Regions from separate parts of the Homo sapiens genome. Here regions 2 and 3 are each linked to region 1. Evidence: promoter capture Hi-C in 16 types of primary human blood cells and fetal thymus (Javierre and others, 2016). All regions are on one chromosome and are shown on one strand. The core of a region is centred on a gene start or on the middle of the fragment in contact, and the rest is flanking DNA. Distances in the headings are between cores, read along the strand shown. Region 1 holds the start of RPS12 (ribosomal protein S12). Region 2 overlaps EYA4 (EYA transcriptional coactivator and phosphatase 4). Region 3 overlaps EYA4 (EYA transcriptional coactivator and phosphatase 4).

Region 1 (3,167 bases), core at 413-2,912:
TGAATTGGTGTAAGTCATTTTTAAAACTTCTGGCCAAAACCCAACCATAATAGCTTTCTTGTAAGCCAGCTTCATATACCTAAAGAAACATGTGAAAGGCCGGGCACGATGGCTCACTCCTGTAATCCCAGCACTTTGGGAAGACGAGGGGGGCAGATGACCCGAGGTCAGGAGTACCAGACCAGCCAGAGACCAACATGGCGAAACCCCGTTTCTACTGAAAGTACAAAAACTAGCTGGGCATGGTGGCGTGTGCCTGTAATTCCATCTACTCGGGAGGCAGAAGAATCGCTTGAACCTGGTAGGTAGAGGTTGCAATGAGATCGCGCCACTGCACTCCAGCCTGGGGGACAGAGCAAGACTCTTTGTCTCAAAAAAAAAAAAGAAAAAAGAAAAAAAAAAGACTGTGGCATTAATGGAACAGTTATGAAATGCCATGCAATAATGCCGAAATAGAAATACAGAAGACTCATACTAGGACCTACTAAATACATTAAACAATAATGCCGTTTCCATCGGATTGAACTGGCTAGATTACACCAAAACGAACTTGTCCTGTAAAACCTTAAAACTGCATTTAAATTCAGCTCAAGAGTAGGTTGATTTGTCAATGCCACCACCCTAAAAAACACATTAACTCGATCCATTCAAATACATTAACAAATATCCCAAATTCAAATAAATCACAGCTATTATACTACTAAATTCATCTAGGACCAAATGCTTCTGAAACCTGAGTTTGAAATTCCATTAAATTAATGCTTGTTTTGCAAACTACCAGATGTAATGTGGCTCTCCATCTCATCTATCTGCCAGATAAGTATAAGACTGACTAGCTCCACAACCTACAGGTTTGTCAGACTCTTATGTTTCACTCATAAAAGGAGTGAAGGGGTATCCGACAATTAAAGTCATCATTCAAACACTGTAGTTTTGAGTGCTTATCCCCATTCCAAACAGCAACCCACACATTTTAAGTGGGCTTTATAGATCTGAGTTCTGATACCTTTTCCTAGGTTTCCGGTAGGACGGATGCCATTCAGAACTTTTGCGCTAACACCATGAACTCCATGCCTTCTTCCCTTGGGTGGCAGTTTTGTTCCGGTTGCAAGAACCCACAGTATTGAGACTGATACACGTACTTGTCTAAGGCTTTGGCAGCTTCGCGAATTCCACGTGCTAGGCCATCGTGGATGAGGGCAGTCTTCAGAACCTCTTGTAAAGCAGTATTAACGTCCATTACACCTCCAGCAGCAATGCTTAAACGCGACACATCAGAACCATCAGTTAAAATCCTCACACCACATAAGGCCTTGCACTCAGCAAAAGCTAAGTGTACAACAGACGCGCTTACGGCGACCCGTTTGACCCAGTCCTGTTCCGCCAGCTCTAGCCCCACGCCTCAGCCGCACCCCGACCCCAACTCCAACCCCGGCCCCTGGGCTCACCCTTCCTCGGCCATGGCGGTGGGTTACGGGTGAAGTTGAATCTTGAACGCACTAAAAAACAAAAGCATTGACTTGTTAAAGAACCAGATACTCGTCACGAATCCCAGCAAGAACGCAACGAGCCACAAATTATAACCAATACACCCCCCTGCCGCCTCGCTCAACTTACCCCAAGCCTCCGCCTCCGCGCGACTCGGCGGCGGCAGGGAAAGAGGCCTCATCCGCACGCATGCCGGTATTTAAGGGTTTTTCAGGTCCCCTGTGCGCATGTGCACTCCCACCCTCGAAAGAGGTGGCTCCCGCAGTGCCGGGCCTGGGGAGTTTCTGTTTCCGGATTGAGGCGGTTCTGAGGCAAACGTACTGCGAGTTTTCTATCTCTGCCAGGCCGGTCCTTGGCGAGTGCAACAGGCACTACGCGGGCAGCTTCGCGTTGTCCTTCTTTGCGGAGGCGTGGCCCACCGAGGCCCAGGGAACTCATTCTACGGAGCGCGACAGAAGCCAAACAAGTGTGTCCGCGTGTTCTTTAAGGCACCTAGAGCCCTGTATCCCGCCGAGCGCCAGTTTTAACCCTTTCCACACCACGTTCTACTTTCCTGTTGCTTCTACAAGACCCAGCCTCCCCAGGCAGCGCACTTTGTTCCTTCGCTTCTAAGTCACCCTGAGAGACCATGTTTGTGTCGTTGTGGGTGTGATCCTCATCTTTGTCTTCATGAAACGAGAGCCTACATGCTTTCACTCTTCCAGGCTGGAGTGCAATGGCGCGATCTCAGCTTACTGCGACCTCCGGCTCCCGGTTTCAAGCGATTCTCCTGCCTCAGCCTCCCGAGTAGCCGGGATTGCAGGCGCCTGCCACCACCCTGGCTAATTTTTTGTATTTTTAGTAAAGACGGGATTTCACCATGTTGGCCAGGCTGGTCTCGAACTCCTGACCTCAGGGGATCCACCCGCCTCGGCCTCCCAAAATGCTGGGATTAGAGGCGTGACCCGCCGCCCCCGGCCGCTTTCACTATTTCTAAGCCCTTTCCCTGCGGTGTGTTGGTAAAGCGGAACCCTGCAGCCAGGGGTCAATTCTAGTTTCTAAGTATAGCGGGAGTCGCTTCTGAACGAAGTTTGTTCTGCTTTGTTTGGTTTTTAACGACGCGTTGTGCTCGGAATACACAGTTCCGCGCAACTCAGAATTCCTCAGGTGCATTTTCAACACCTACAATGTGCCTGACGCAGGGCCAGGTCCTGGGACTACAGACATGAAATATCCAGTCTTTGAGGAGTCCATTTTCTTCCAGGAAGCAATATTTTAAATTTGGAAGTGATTGGCCATTCCCCAATCCCCACTTCCAAACCAAACGCACGAAACACTACTGAATATGATCAATACTGCCTTTGTGTTTAATTTCCTCTCCTGGGTAGTCAGCCGCCAAACCAGTGAGCAATTATTAGGCGCTTGGCACGTGCCAGCGCTGTGAATCCAGTGGGCAGATACTGTTAGACTGGTGAGTGCAGCGAAAAAAACAAAAATGGGTAACGCAGTAAGAGCACCAGGGAGTTCACCAGAACAGAGACCTGCTGTAATGTTAATAAACTGATAGAGTTCAGTTTACTGATAGAGTTCAGTTTTAGATTTTCCGCTGGTTTCAGTTTCATTTTTAAAGCGTTGAAGCTGCTTCTCTGTCAGTAACTCATGCAAATGTTTATTGAGCTTTTGATTTAAAAAAAAAAAAA
Region 2 (3,167 bases), core at 328-2,827, 710 kb before region 1:
CGCTACCAACATCAACATCTGGGAAAGCAAGTGGGCATCAAAATCCTACCTGGCTAATGGAAAGCAAGTTTTAATCAGTGCATCACTCCTACGGGCCTCTCAATTAAAAATAAAATGAAACAAAATGACAAACTTCTTAATTTTGTTAATCTAGGAAGAAAAGAGGGTGAATTCCTTTCTGTATAAAAATAATTTGAAGCAGGACTACATAAAGTAGAAAAAAAAGGTGGGGATTATAACTTTCTTACTTGTCTGGGACAACCAATAACTTAAGCCAGTAGAGTCGACCTGATTTATTTCACTGGCGTAGAATTGAGAGAAAGTACTCTAGCATACATTTTCAATGGGGAAGATATCTCCAAAGGGACACAAATGAGCTCTTGTGGGGCAGAAAATCTTAGACATTACAGTGGTTTGTGGCCTTCAAAAGATATACTATAATAGTATACAGTACATATGTGACATTAAAATTTCATGAAAGGGAGTAATTAGAAAAAAACTGTCTAAAGAGTCCCCACTGGCGATGATAATGAAAAAGAAAAAACACTGCATTACAGGAACTGACAAAACAAAAGCATGATTTGTTAAGTTTGGGCTGATGACATCTTCTAGAATATGTACGTATAAAATATTCATGTATATAAGGGAAATGAGTATATAGATATAAAACATGCAAAAGATATTTTATTTAAGAACTAAGTAGCATAATAATCCTTATTGCTATATAATTCCTTGCTGCACACTATGGTAGCCACCAGCCACATGTGGCTATTGAGCACTTGAAATGTGGTTGGTCCAGTTTAAAATACACAATGAATTTCAAAGACTTAGGACAAAACAAACAAACAAAAAAGAATGTAAACATGACTTCAATAATTTTTACATTAATTAGATATCAAGACAATTATTTTGGGTATACTGGGTTGACATGTTATTAAAATTAATTCTACCTGTTTCTCTTTAATTTTGTAAAATGTAGCTTCTAGAAAATTTCAAACTACATATACAGCTTGTATTAATATTACATGTTTCTATGGAAGAGCGCAGCTAGACATTCCTATTCCTAAACTTTGATATTTCTTCTTAAATTTCTCAGACAAAATATGTCTAGGTCAAATTAAGTCACTGAAATTCACATAGAAGTAACATTTTTTCATTCAGCTCAGATCTATTTGTAACAACAAAACAGTACTTAACATTTCTGCACATGCGATTACCGCTACATCCAAAGAAAAGCATGCATTCTGGGTACTAGAGAAACCAATCACCTCTGTTTTAAAATAGAATAATAAGCCTTCACCATCACCAAAACTGTACCTACATAAACAACCATTTGGAAATAGCATTCTATCTGAGATTGTTTTCCATTCAGGGTTATGCGTTTCCCTCCTGAAGTTTTAGGTATAACAACTGGTAAACCGAATCTAAACATTAATGCTGTGGAAAACAGGTAGACTCGGCTAAGTTTTAATTGTCAAAAGCATATTGTGTTACTGGTTTGGAAAACTGAATTATATTAGTCCTTACCTAAATATACGTGAATTTAATTTGCATAGGCTAAAAGACATGTAAATTTAGCAGGAGTGGGGCTGTATTACTAATCATTGGCTGCTCTTTGTTGTGTATAACTATGGTGCCAATAAGAAAAATCACAACATGGACTCAGGACATTGACAAACTCCAGAAGATATTTCAGTTCAGTGTGACTGGAAGCATTTGAAGTAGTAGTCAGCAATGAAAGCCGTATTTCTTGAGGCTGCAGCCCTGACCTCATACAGGACGTGCTTGGGGCTAGTGTGCTGTCTTGGGTCATTGACACTGCTAATGAAGGCTGAGGTGTTCTGTGGCAGGCAGAGCCTGAGCCTACTCTCTTAAATGTAATCGAAAAGCAAGTATGGCTGCCAATACGTCACCAAAACTTCTAAAGTGGAAGTGCTTTCCTTTTCTCCATTTTGCTTGATTTAAATCGACTAGAAACATACATCATTTCCTTTCTCTTTCTCTTATAGCCATAAACTTTTCTATAAAACTGTCTATGTTGACTGTTTTTTGAAAACAGGTAAACATTCCAGCACATGCAAATGGCAAAGGCTTTATTAGATGATGATTTAAAATCTCCTTAGGGTGATACAGATGACATTCTTTCTATGTAAAACAGTATAGGCTGGCATGTCATTGTTTTAAAAATACTAATTCATCATCTGGCTTTGTTTTGTAAATTCTATCACTTTTATCTTGGGTAGATGATATTTTTCTATCATTCGGTGAAGGCAGCAGTAGATCTTAGGGTGGAGTTGACAGTCTGGTGGTGGGGGCCAATCCTGATATCATTCTTCTTTTGATGTTGAACCAACCATTTAATGGTTTTTAATTGCCTTGGTTTCTTCTTCAGAAATACGGGCCAGATGAAAAGGCTTATTAAAATACTTAGGGCCCATGGGATCTTCTGAATGTGTTCAAAGCCAGCTGCTTGGCTTCAATCAAGTACCACTGGCTCACCAAAACAGATGAAACTCTTCTAGGAGATGTGAGGCACATTACGGCTAAGACAAGTTGGTGCAAAAGGATCTGAGCAATACATCCCATTTCAGTAGCACTTATTAAAATCTCTTGTAGCAGTTTTTCTTCAGCTATTAAATCTGCCCTCAGCATTCCTTATCATGGAGCATGCCTACTTCCAGGCACTCACGAGGACCATATGGCATGCAGGTCTCATGAACTACTCACATGACTTTTGTATGGAGCTCATTAATCTCTATCTTGCTAAATTTCATGTGCTTAACAATGGTTATTCTCCCCCCCAATCTTTCTTGCAGATCCCCTGGCTCATCTATATCTGTGCACATTGTATGTGTATTAATATATACATATGCATCTATATAAGCATGTGTATACATGCCCACACAAATATATATGTTACTATATATATTTACTATATGTATATACTTTCAAACACATAAATAAATATAACTAAATTTCCCTGCATTTCCTATCAAATTTCAGGCAAAAAATGCTAAACTCCAAATGGTTTATTTGAATGTAAGTATTGACCCTCTCATGCTCTTATTGCTTTGCATCTATAAATTTAAATCATTTGTCAAGCTGCCATTGGGCCAAACTACAGAAATGCAAACAAAAAGGCTTGCATTAGAAGTATCACACCGACA
Region 3 (3,167 bases), core at 299-2,798, 690 kb before region 1:
AAGGTAGGGGTTCAGTAGTAGTAATCTCCCTCTCAATTCATAATATGACTATAGATAAAAACTTTAATTATGAAACTATGAGATAAAAAATAAATTTAAACATGCCATCTGAAAAAAAATGAAAGAGAAATCTCTATTTCAGCATAGTTATGCTTGACTGAGAAGTACTTCTGCCAAGAACCTGAACTATTTAGTTATTTCGAATTCTATTATCTGAATGTCTAATAACCTAGGTCATTAGCACACAGATGGCATACTTTATTGCAGTACACATTCAACTACTCTGAGGCTATTTTTCCTTGGGTCGTTTCATTTTGCTGTTGATTTTTATTTTCTATTCCTCTTATTTGCCATTTAGACACTGTCTTGCCATTTGAGGTTGAAAATAGAAACATAATTTTTAAAATGAGAAAATAAATGCATTTAAATGCATCAAATGTGCTTAAATAGTTCTAGCACTGTTTTATCCAGAAGGGAAAGAAACGGGGAATGATAATGTTAGCTAAAGTTAAGTTTCAGATTATCCACAAAATTAATTGATCCACGCTATCACCATGAATAGTGTCTGTGAATATCGTTTAGTGATTAACCTAGATAGGTTCCGGGTTAATAATCTGGAAGAGCTAATGCTGAAACACTAAAAGAACCAAGAGTCATGTACAGCTGTGGACAGTAAGGACAGCAAAGCCAACAATCTCCTCTTCAGAGACATTTTTGTTCTACATATGTATTATTCATGAACACAAATTAACTTTCTGCTTATATTTGTATATACAATTTTTCCTCTTGACAAGAACTTTATGCTTCTCTTGAGCTGAATTTTTATCTTTCTGTTTTCTCGAGGTTATCTACAGATACAGAAACCATCTAGGAGGTCTGGTGTTGGATACAACTATTTGTACCTTGTAAAATTCTTACCTCTAAATCATTAAAAAACAAATGAGTATCAGCAAGATTAAAAATCATTTCTTCCATGCGGAGTCCAAGGGTTACAGCCATGGGGGGATCCTGTAAAGAAAATGTACACATAATGAGGTAAAATTTCAGTAAGCGCTTATTATTAAAAATATTTTAAGCACATATTGCTGTGGTGGAAGAGGGAGAAGACTGCATGGGTTTTTACTGAAGATTCAAAAGATTTCTCAGTTTTCCAAAAAGGTGACTTTCCAGAAGGTTCAGACATACCAAATGCACAGACACACCTGGGAATTCAGACATACGTAACGATGACTCAGCATACATTTTCACATAAAGCTGTATGTTGAGGAGAGAAGGAGGAAGGAAATCAGCTAGTTCATATGACCCAGTTTACATATAATCTATGGAAAGTATTCTGGAGAAAGGTATTTGGATGGGGTGCTGAAGAATGGAGCAAACTTACTAAAAAGAAAGGATGTCTTTTTAAGAATAATGACAAATAATAAGAATTAAAAGATAGAGAAAAATAGGTCAACTGGGTATTTATAGGACTTGAGTAGAGAATGTTATCTGGAGGTGAAACAGGAAGAGCTGGCAGAGGATGGTGCGACCATCACTTAATTTTTAATTGCATTTTTATCAACAAGGTAAGAGGAATCTCCCTATCCAAACATGTGTAGAGTTTGGTCTAACCTGCATTTGACTAAGGTTGAAGAAGGGAGGGGTGAGAATAGCTAAAAGAACATTAGTTCTCTAAGTGTAATCCAGGTAAAAAATATATGCTTTGGGAAGTGATGGGGTCAGTAAAGAGTTAAAATGACTCAATTTTTGTTTACAGAAACCAAGATATTAAACAGCAGCAAGAAGTCGAAAATCAAGACCAGAGTTGTTACTTTACCATAATTAACTGCAGCTGAAGGCCTAGCATCAAGAGATATAAGACTAAAAAGAAAGGAGCATTTGGGGATAGGGATGGGAATAGGGAAGTAATTCATGCTCAAACATTGTGTTTAAAATTATCAAAGTTGGAATGATGTCTAAAGAAGAACTGCTCATAGGTGCAACTCCGAAGATAAGAGAAAGAAAAAACCTGGAAGGGACAAACCCTTAAAATTTGAGACCAGATGGGTGTTAGCAGGGAGAAGAATAAGGTTTTGAATAAAGCTGACAAGTCTAGAAGGATACTATTGGTTTTGGCTGGGAAGTTATTTTGGAAGACCTCAGAGGGTGATTTGGGTTGAGTGGCTGGGCCAGGAGCCAGACTGCAGGGATTTGAGAAGAGAGAGCCGAAATTGTGTTTTCAACGTTCTAATAGTTGGCATTTCAAGAAATGTATCTCAACTTGGGGAAATGTAATGCAAACTTTACTCAATTTATGATAAGAACCTGCAACCCAGGTCAGGCCAAGCAGTATTCATCTACACCCTGAACTGATTCCATTTGCAAGGAGAAACCACTCTTCATTCCACACCTCCACTATGATAATCCATTTTATTCCTATATTTCCTTTCATCATGTTTTGAGGGGGAAGCCCTAAAGTGTAAACATATTTGAGATGTCATCCTGTGTTCTATAGCCATGAAAACCTGGAGAATAGGAATTAAATGCTAAGAAAAAGGCATTGAGTGCTAAGGGGTCACTGGGGTATGAGAGCTAAACTAAGACGATGTGAGTGAAGATAGAGACAAGATAATAATACGCTGGATTTCAACATAATTTTCTAATTGTTTGCATCTTCTCATTTAGAGATTTATGTGGATTTCATAGGCAGAGATTCTCATTTCTCAGTAATGGATGCTGACTCTTCACATATCTGATGGCCTCCTGGTATTATGTCATCCGGTAGCTTGACTGTGCTGCCGGATTCATCCGTCTTCCAGTGACAGAACCATTTGGGACTATATACCCAAAGATCAAATCAGTTCTGTTTTAGCCAACAAATATTCATTAAAAACAAGAATAAAATTATTAATAAGTAGGCCAGGCACAGTGGCTCACGCCTGTGTTCCCAGCACTTTGGGAGGCTGAGGCAGGCAGACCATTTGAGGTCAGGAGTTCGAGACCAGCCTGGCCAACATGGTAAAACCCTGTTTCTACTAAAAATACAAAAATTAGCTGGACACAGTGGTGTGTGCTTGTAATCCCAGCTACTCAGGATGCTGAGGCACGAGAATCCCTTGAACCTTGGAGGTGGAGGTTGCAGTGAGCCAAGATCATGCCACTGTACTCCAGCTTGGGTGACAGAGTGA

Evidence for each region. Contacts are between HindIII fragments. The CHiCAGO score rates a contact against its expected background, and 5 or more counts as called.
Region 2: a contact is called between a fragment that was not itself captured here and the fragment with the promoter of RPS12 in region 1, in 1 of 17 cell types (endothelial precursors). The highest score is 5.4, in endothelial precursors.
Region 3: a fragment that was not itself captured here is called in contact with the fragment with the promoter of RPS12 in region 1 in 1 of 17 cell types (megakaryocytes); the score reaches 7.1 in megakaryocytes.

Annotation. Positions count from the first base shown.
Region 1 is chr6:132,813,064-132,816,230 of GRCh38, reverse strand. It overlaps RPS12 (ribosomal protein S12), which reads right to left and starts at 1,662. Exons shown (of 6, transcript NM_001016.4): 1 at 1,618-1,662; 2 at 1,449-1,499; 3 at 1,143-1,259. The coding sequence starts at 1,462. SNORD101 (small nucleolar RNA, C/D box 101) reads right to left here and starts at 924; the gene lies at 852-924. It overlaps LOC107986644 (a long non-coding RNA gene), which reads left to right and starts at 1,943. Exons shown (of 3, transcript XR_001744345.3): 1 at 1,943-2,938. RefSeq lists enhancers at 1,197-1,326, 1,757-2,036, 1,951-2,697, 3,127-3,167. The HindIII fragment of the contact is 13,401 bases long and covers 1-3,167 here.
Region 2 is chr6:133,525,273-133,528,439 of GRCh38, reverse strand. The region is part of intron 19 of EYA4 (EYA transcriptional coactivator and phosphatase 4); the gene reads right to left. The region is part of intron 6 of TARID (TCF21 antisense RNA inducing promoter demethylation); the gene reads left to right. Among named protein-coding and RNA genes, the nearest start is that of EYA4-AS2, 70 kb to the right of the region's middle. The HindIII fragment of the contact is 5,594 bases long and covers 1-3,167 here.
Region 3 is chr6:133,503,947-133,507,113 of GRCh38, reverse strand. EYA4 (EYA transcriptional coactivator and phosphatase 4) reads right to left here. Exons shown (of 20, transcript NM_004100.5): 14 at 919-1,008. It overlaps TARID (TCF21 antisense RNA inducing promoter demethylation), which reads left to right. Exons shown (of 9, transcript NR_109982.1): 8 at 844-1,035. Among named protein-coding and RNA genes, the nearest start is that of EYA4-AS2, 49 kb to the right of the region's middle. RefSeq lists an enhancer at 764-1,963. The HindIII fragment of the contact is 5,382 bases long and covers 1-3,167 here.